2 separate regions of the Homo sapiens genome follow, and region 2 is linked to region 1. Evidence: promoter capture Hi-C in 16 types of primary human blood cells and fetal thymus (Javierre and others, 2016). All regions are on one chromosome and are shown on one strand. Each heading gives the region's core, a stretch centred on a gene start or on the middle of the fragment in contact. The rest is flanking DNA. Distances are from core to core; before and after follow the strand shown. Region 1 holds the start of C12orf75 (chromosome 12 open reading frame 75). Region 2 overlaps NUAK1 (NUAK family kinase 1).

Evidence for each region. The method cuts DNA at HindIII sites, captures the fragments that hold promoters and counts their contacts. A CHiCAGO score of 5 or more calls a contact.
Region 2: a fragment that was not itself captured here is called in contact with the fragment with the promoter of C12orf75 in region 1 in 1 of 17 cell types (neutrophils); the score reaches 5.1 in neutrophils.

Annotation. Positions count from the first base shown.
Region 1 is chr12:105,328,942-105,332,575 of GRCh38, reverse strand. C12orf75 (chromosome 12 open reading frame 75) reads right to left here and starts at 1,885. Exons shown (of 6, transcript NM_001145199.2): 1 at 1,639-1,885. The coding sequence starts at 1,684. RefSeq lists an enhancer at 260-803 and silencers at 1,460-1,559, 1,590-2,249. The HindIII fragment of the contact is 8,522 bases long and covers 1-3,634 here.
Region 2 is chr12:106,116,174-106,119,807 of GRCh38, reverse strand. The region is part of intron 1 of NUAK1 (NUAK family kinase 1); the gene reads left to right. Among named protein-coding and RNA genes, the nearest start is that of NUAK1, 21 kb to the left of the region's middle. RefSeq lists an enhancer at 3,463-3,634. The HindIII fragment of the contact is 3,448 bases long and covers 285-3,634 here.

The DNA.
Region 1 (3,634 bases), core at 636-3,135:
ATTTTTAGTAGAGACTGGGTTTCACCATGTTGGTTACACTGGTCTCGAGTTCCTGAGCTCAGATGATCCACCCACCCCAGCCTCCCAAAGTGCTGGGATTACACAGGCATGAGTCACTGCGCCTGGTCCATCATTCTGATTTTCATTTGGCAATGGTACCCCCTCCCCATCCCTAAAACTGACAAGCAGTTCATTAATAAATCAAAATGTACATGCATGAAACTAGCCTCATTTTAAGGGAAATCTGCTACAAATCCTTCCTACAATTTTTTTTAATGTGGATAACTTTTCTTCACCTTTTTTAAGTAGGCTACACATGCAGTGGATTGCATACGGCCACAGTACCTAGTAGACTGAGACACAATTTGAGTGCGGGGTGTGGCCCTGACATTGTTTCATACAAGCAGAGCTTTCTGGCCACAGGCAGGTTTGAAGCCCGTCTGCCCTCATTAGCATAAGGTGCTACACTAACCTTCCCCACTGTTAAATGAATCTAAAAAGTTCGCTCTCCTGTGGCTCTCTGCATTGTCACCAGGACAGGATTTAATTCAAGACTCAAATTGAGTCTTAAACTCCATTTTTTACCGGCGTCTGGGTTAAGGGATGTGACAGGCCCAAGGTTACAAAGTCATTGCCAGGGCCTCCACAGCCGCCTAGGAAATACCGCAGCCTCTGACTGCTGTTTGCATTTGCTGGTTAGGCTAGGATGTGGCATCTGGTTGACTTCAATTGGAGGAGATAGGAGCTCTTTATCCAAAAGGACACTGAAATAGGTCAGCAGTTATTACTCAAAACAGATCCAGGGTACCTTAAATCCCGAGACATAGGCAGGGTGAAATAGAAGGGTGAGTTTTGGCAAAAGTCACTTGACACAAAGCCTGGCTGGCCCGGGGAAGCTAGAAGACCTTGCCTGCCAATCAACATGAAGTGGTATAAAAAGAAGTTTCTATTTGTGTGTGTGTGTGTGTGTGTGTGTGTGTGTGTTTAATGAAAAGTATCTTAACAGACTGTTAATAATAAAGCTCTGTCTCACATATGTAAAACATCCTTACTGCTGCAGCTTCTCAGAGAAATCCTAAGAGCAGCCCAGCCGGTCTTCGGCATCAAGGCAGACACAGATGCGTTTTTGCAGCTCTGCTTCTAGTTCTCCCCAACCCCACTCCCACCCTTCCCCGCTTCCTGCCCCACCACCACTGCCCGAAAAGTCCTGTCTTGCTCTGCTGCACTTTTCCAGGTGCAGCGCCTTGGTTCCGAGGAGATGGGGGAGAGGCCTGGAGGAGCAAGTGTGGGAGGTGGGGGAGCGGCCGGGGACCACGTCCGGGAATCCTCTCCCCCAGGAGAGCCCTGAGACCCGCCAGCTGCAGGTGAGCCCCGGCGGCTGCAGGGGAGCCCGCGACAGTCCTCCCCGCGCTCCCTCGGCAGAGACGCCCCGCAGGCTCGACTGCTCCAGGCGCAACCGCCCCCGCGCGGGGGACTTGCCACGCTTTCGGTCTTTCCAGAAACGGGCGGTCTGCTCCTGTCCCGAAAATGGGGACGGGGAGAGGGGGCTGCGCGCCCCCCACCCAAGATCCCTGCACCCTTCCTTCCCGCCGCCTCTCCCGCCCGCCCCCGCCGGCCCCCGCCTCCCGCCGGACTCACCTTGGCCCGCGCCCGCGCTGGTGGCGGTGGAGTTCCCGCAGCCCATCGCGCAGCCGGCCGGGGAAGCCGCGCTCCGGAGCTCTCGGCCGCGGGTCCTGGGGGCGGAGACCCAGACGAAGGGCGGCGCACCCCGAGCGGGAGGCTGACGGGGCCGCGAGGGGCCAGGAACCGAGTGGGGGCCGCCCCCTCCCACCGCCGGGAGACGCGGCCCGGGGCGCAGCGGGCTGCGGGCTGCCGGGCGGAAACCACCCGGCACCCCTCGCCCCGGCCCCGCCCCGCCCGGGGACCCGCCGGACCCACCCGTCGCCCCAGCAACCTCGGCACTGGCCAATCCCCAGCCTCCTGCGCGCTTCGCGGTCGGCCATTGGTCGTTATTACGAGGGGCGGGAGTTTAAAGTGGGCCCCGGGGCGAGGGAGCGGCAAGGGGCGTGGCCGGCGCAGCGGGGTGGGGGTGCCCACCTGCCCACCCTCAGCATCCTCCTCGCCTTGTCTTTGCTTTTCTTTCCTCACTTCCCCTCCCTGCCCCAGGATGTGGGGAGGAGAGGAAGTAGCAGGGGGCACCCTGCACAGTGGACGCCCAATAAATGCTATTGACTGAATGTTGTGCAGGTCTGAAGCCAAAACCGAAATCCCCAGCTGCTTTAACAGAAGGCCAACGCAGCTCTGTTCCCCATACGCACTGCCTGGCAAAAGTTCTTCCCCAGATTGGTCATCTTGACCTATTCCTCTTTAAAACAAATGTCTGCAACGATTTCAATAACTTGGATTCAGGACCTCCTCTCTGATAAATGAGAGAACTGTGGATGGGCACGGTGCTGTACGTTTCAACATGATAGTTGGGCCAGCGTTACTGCAGTCAGACTGTCTGAGTTAAAGTCTTCGTTCTGCCCCGTGATAGCTGCGTGACCTCAGGAAAGTAACTTAACCCATTGGGTACATCCCTTGTTTCACCTATAAAATGACAGTAACTCAGGTACATATAAAGTACCTAACAAAGTTCCCTATCTTTAGTAAATATCAGCTATTATCATTATTATTATTAACTCTAATAGAAATGAATACAAATTCCTTAAAGGGAAAGACTATCTGATTTTTCATAGCGTCCTCCTGGCTTGTAATACAGACTCACTAAATGTTTTGTGAGGTGACTTCAAGCCAGGAATTAAAGCTCCATTTTAAATTCACTTAATATTTGTAGGGAGCCTAGCCTGTGCCAAGTCCTTTGTTAAGTTCCGGGGATACAAATATGTGGGAGACAGTCTAACCAGGCAGATAGATTAAAATAAATTAATTACAATATAGAAGGAATGTTAACAGAGGAATACAGGTGCCATAGAGTCCCAGAGGATGCTGGGATGCTAGTTAAAAGACTTGCCTAAGGCCAGGCATGGTAGCTTACACCTGTAAACTAGCACTTTGGGAGGCTGACACGGGCGGATCACGAGGTCAGGAGTTCGAGACCAGCCTAACATGGTGAAACCCTGTCTCTACTAAAAATACAAAGATTAATTGGGTGTGGTGGCATACACCTGTAATCCCAGCTACTTAAGAGGCTGAGGCAAGAGAATCACTTGAACCTGAGAGGTGGAGGTTGCAGTGGGCCGAGATAGCACCACTGCACTCAAGCCTGGGTGACAAAGCGAGATTCTGTCTCAAAAAAACAAAACAAAACAAAAAAAAAACAGACTTCCCTGAAACCATACTGTTGTGTTTACATAAAAATAAAAATATGAACCAGAATCAAGGACTTGGCAGGTTTTTGAACATGGCCTTTGAGGCAATGGTGCGTTCTATCATTCAGGATGCAAAATATACAGCATTCTCCATTTGAAAATTAGCTGTGGTAGCCATGTGCTGAGAGGATAATTAATTCTTGGATAAATAAAGGCATTTTTTAGTTGACTTCTAGAAGTACTGCTTCTCTACCAGCCTGTGCTGTCTTGGTTCAGTGTCCATCCTAATACATAGCCAGAACTGGGGAAAAGGGAACTATCAA
Region 2 (3,634 bases), core at 759-3,258, 790 kb before region 1:
TCTGTACTGTGTTTTGGAGTTCTCATGTCTGCTATTTATAGTTTGTGTCTGTCATCTCCCTTATTAACTTTCATTCCTCTTTGTGACCTTTTTAAAAAATAAAATTCTTCTTTTCCCTTAGCGAAAATAGTGCATGCTCAATACTGAAAACTCGCCAGATACAGAAAAGTTAAAGATTAAGGGGAAAGTGAGTTGTCATGTCTTGCTTCTGTCAGTGAGGCTGTGTCTAGCAGCTTTCTAGTTCCATTTTTCCAGCTTCCCTACAGATTTTCTGTGAGTAAGCTTTCCTCGTAATTGTGTTAGTAGGAAAACTATGGGTGACGATCTGCAGGGGCGCCGTGCATGGAATCCATGGCATTTCTTTGAGTGGCATTTCTAAGGGCTTATTTCCATTCCCCAAAGTCTTCAGGGCTGAATGGCGCTCCAAGCATGAAGTCGTGTTTTCTGGGTAACAGGATGAGCCACCTTGGAGTAAATAGGGCTGGTCGGGGTCACTCAGTTAGGATGTGGCTGAGCTGGGTCTCTTGACTCAAGGTCAAGTGTATTTTCTATTTTGCTACCTCTTACCTGTGTTTTACACTACAGGTTAAGAGATAGTGGTTTTGGCATAAAGAAGCTATTGCTATATTTGGATAATTAAAACCAGGAAAAACCTACCTTTATCTCAGTCATCTATGTTGCTCAAGTGACAGATTTTTAGATTTCTTTTTTGAGGGAGTAAGAAGTAGAATTTAGTCCCCTTATTAGCATGCCAGACCCAGTCTCTGTTGGAACATCAGTCTTAGATTAATACTGAGATGGACTCAGAAATACACTTGAAAGCAACTTGCATTATTATCCTTACATAGCTTACATTTTATGACCTGCTTAAAGATGCAAGGAGCATAAATCTTGGGAAGGATGGTCTTATTTACTTGTTCGTCTTTTCTGCAGATGGGATGCTCACATTAGAGCCGGGCTGGCTTCAGATGTCTGCTCCAGGATATTTTAGCTGAACTGTATGAGTCCATTAAACAAATGTAAGAGTTTTTGGGAAAGAAGAGCAGTGTCTCAAACCAAATGTTTTACATGGAGAACATCTGGGGAATATTGGTATTTGTGTGTACAGTACATCAGAAAGCAGCTTGGCGGGGTTCCGCAGGGATGTTTCTGGCCTGTGGTTGCTGGATTTGACAGTTTTGTTGTAAGGGAATGGTTCTTATAAAGTATTGCCATCAAAGCAACGCTTGATCCAGGAAGGAGTGTCCTTGCTTAGCCGCACATTCAAATTGTTCTGATTAGCTCCCCGACCAGACCTTCCACGACATTTGAGCAATCTGCTATCTGAGCTAGTTTCCCCCAAGGCTTTACATTCCAGAGAAAGGAAGCATCACAATGCCAGGGCTAAGAGTGTTTTCTTCCTTACCACATATTTCCATAGATTTGACAAATGTGGAAACAGGCGTGGTCCAGTGGAAGCAGCATTGGCCACTGGATCCAAGTACCTGGGTTGAAACTTGGGTGGGGCCTTTGTGACCTGTGGAAACTTGGGGAGTTCTTGTTGGTTTCTGTTTTCCTCTCCTGCAAAATTTCTAGCTTATCTCATGGGGTGGTGGTGGGGGCAATAAAATGAAGTGGGATGACATTGTATCTATAGGTGGGAGGCCATTCATACAGCATGGTATTGCCTCCATGGATTTGTGGTCTTAGCCACAAGTACAGAGGCAACTTGGACCAGAGTGGAATCTGGGTAGACTGCCCGACTTCAGCAACTTGTAGATATTGGGCCAGGTAGTGGGTGGATAGGTAAGAAAGGAATAATTCTTATACAAATTAAGACTTACGATAGTCATCATTTTTTATAAAATTAAGCTCAACAAATATTTATTGGAAGTCTACTACTATAGAGCCAGATCCTTTCCTAGATATTGAGGACACAGAGGGGAACACAGCAGTTCCTGGCTTGCAGTCTCTGCTTGCTATGTCTGGGGCATTGACAATGAATGACCTTCCCTTTTGTTAGGCTATATACTGACTGTCATTGTGTAGCATGGACAGTGGCAGGTAAATAGTTTGTAGGTGTGAACATTATTTGGCAGAGAATGAAGCTGGACTTCCTGCACCTTTGTGCAAAGTAGGTCAATGTTATCCTTACTGAATCCCTCCCCTGAAATGGGATGAAGCTCCACAATAATTTGATATTGTATTTTTGTGGTGTTTGACGAAGTTATTATAAAAATGACATCTATGTGGGTCCTGAAGACTGCATTTCAACTAGTACCGGTCAAGTGAAGTAGGCCCATTTTATGGAGGAGATGACTGAGTGTAAGGCACGCAGTGTGAGAGAGAAGCAGCAGCAACACTGCCTTGGCTTTTTTTGGAAATGGGAAAATGAATAGCTGAGCAAAGTGAGACTCGGTTTTCTGGTTTGAACTGATAGTTATTTAGGAGTGTGAGAAAGACACAGGGATAGAAATGGGGGAGCCATGCATGGAATGACTTCTCAAGAGGCCCCATCTGTGTGCATACACATCATGTGTCTGTGGGCTCCCAAAAGAACACTTTGCTGGGATGGTTCTTGAAACCTTAGAAAGAGCATCTCCAGGGCTAGCTCTAGAGTTGTGTGCCTGCCTGTTGGCATGGGAGAGGGTGAAGTATCTTGGTCTCTTTCAAAAGGCATCTTGGGGGTAGGAATAGTCCTCACAGTGAAGTCAGGGTGTTCCTCCCAAAAGGAGAGTGAATAGGGAGGGGCTGGGCAGGGAGGAGCCCCTGTGTCTACTGGCCTTTCCAGTAGGATGGTAGGCAACTTGAAGGGTAGGTCTAGTTCATGTTCTCTAGGACTGGATCAATGCCTTATCCAGAACAGATTTTCCACAATTGCTTGCTGTGGAATCGACTCATTCTCACATCGTTTTAGGGACATGCCTCCCAGCCCCTCCCATACAATTCTGCCTTTTGCCCACCTGGTCCCACAGAAAGCAGCAGGAACACTGATTGATAGATGTGCTTTTGAAGATGGAAGTGGTTTAAATATTAGCTAACAAAAGGACTTCTGGTGGGGACAAGGCAGTGCGGCCTCGATGGGGCCTTCATGTCCAGAGGTTCTGATTCAGCTCATATTTATGTAACACCTACTATGTGCCAGGCACTGTGCTGATTGCTTTGTCAGTGTGCTTCAGAGGTTAAGAGTATGGTCTTTCAGCGTATGGAGACCCAGACCTCCTATTTATTTATGTGCCTTAGGGCACGTTACTTAACTTCCCTCAGACTCAGTTTATATTCATTGAGAAGGCAGAAATAATAATGTTTTTGTAAGAATTTAATGAGTGAGAGGTTGAGAGGCTTAACAGAAAGGTACTGAGGGCCTGGCACATAGTGAGGGCTTGATAACTGGTAATTATTATGACTGCTAGCTTTTATTGTGAATCACCCCCAACCCCTCTGGAGTGGGCACTGTTATTGTCTCCATTTGGAAGATGAGGAAGTTCAGGCTCAGTGATTTTGGGACAAGAAGGGATTCCACGTTTGAAAGGTGAGCAAGTAAAAGAAGGCTCAGCGGCAGATGGCTGGGGTTTAGGTTGGCTGGAATGATCAGATGTCCCACTATGGTTTTCTGTTTGTCAAGGGTCCTTCTTAATACTTGGGCTCCATTTTA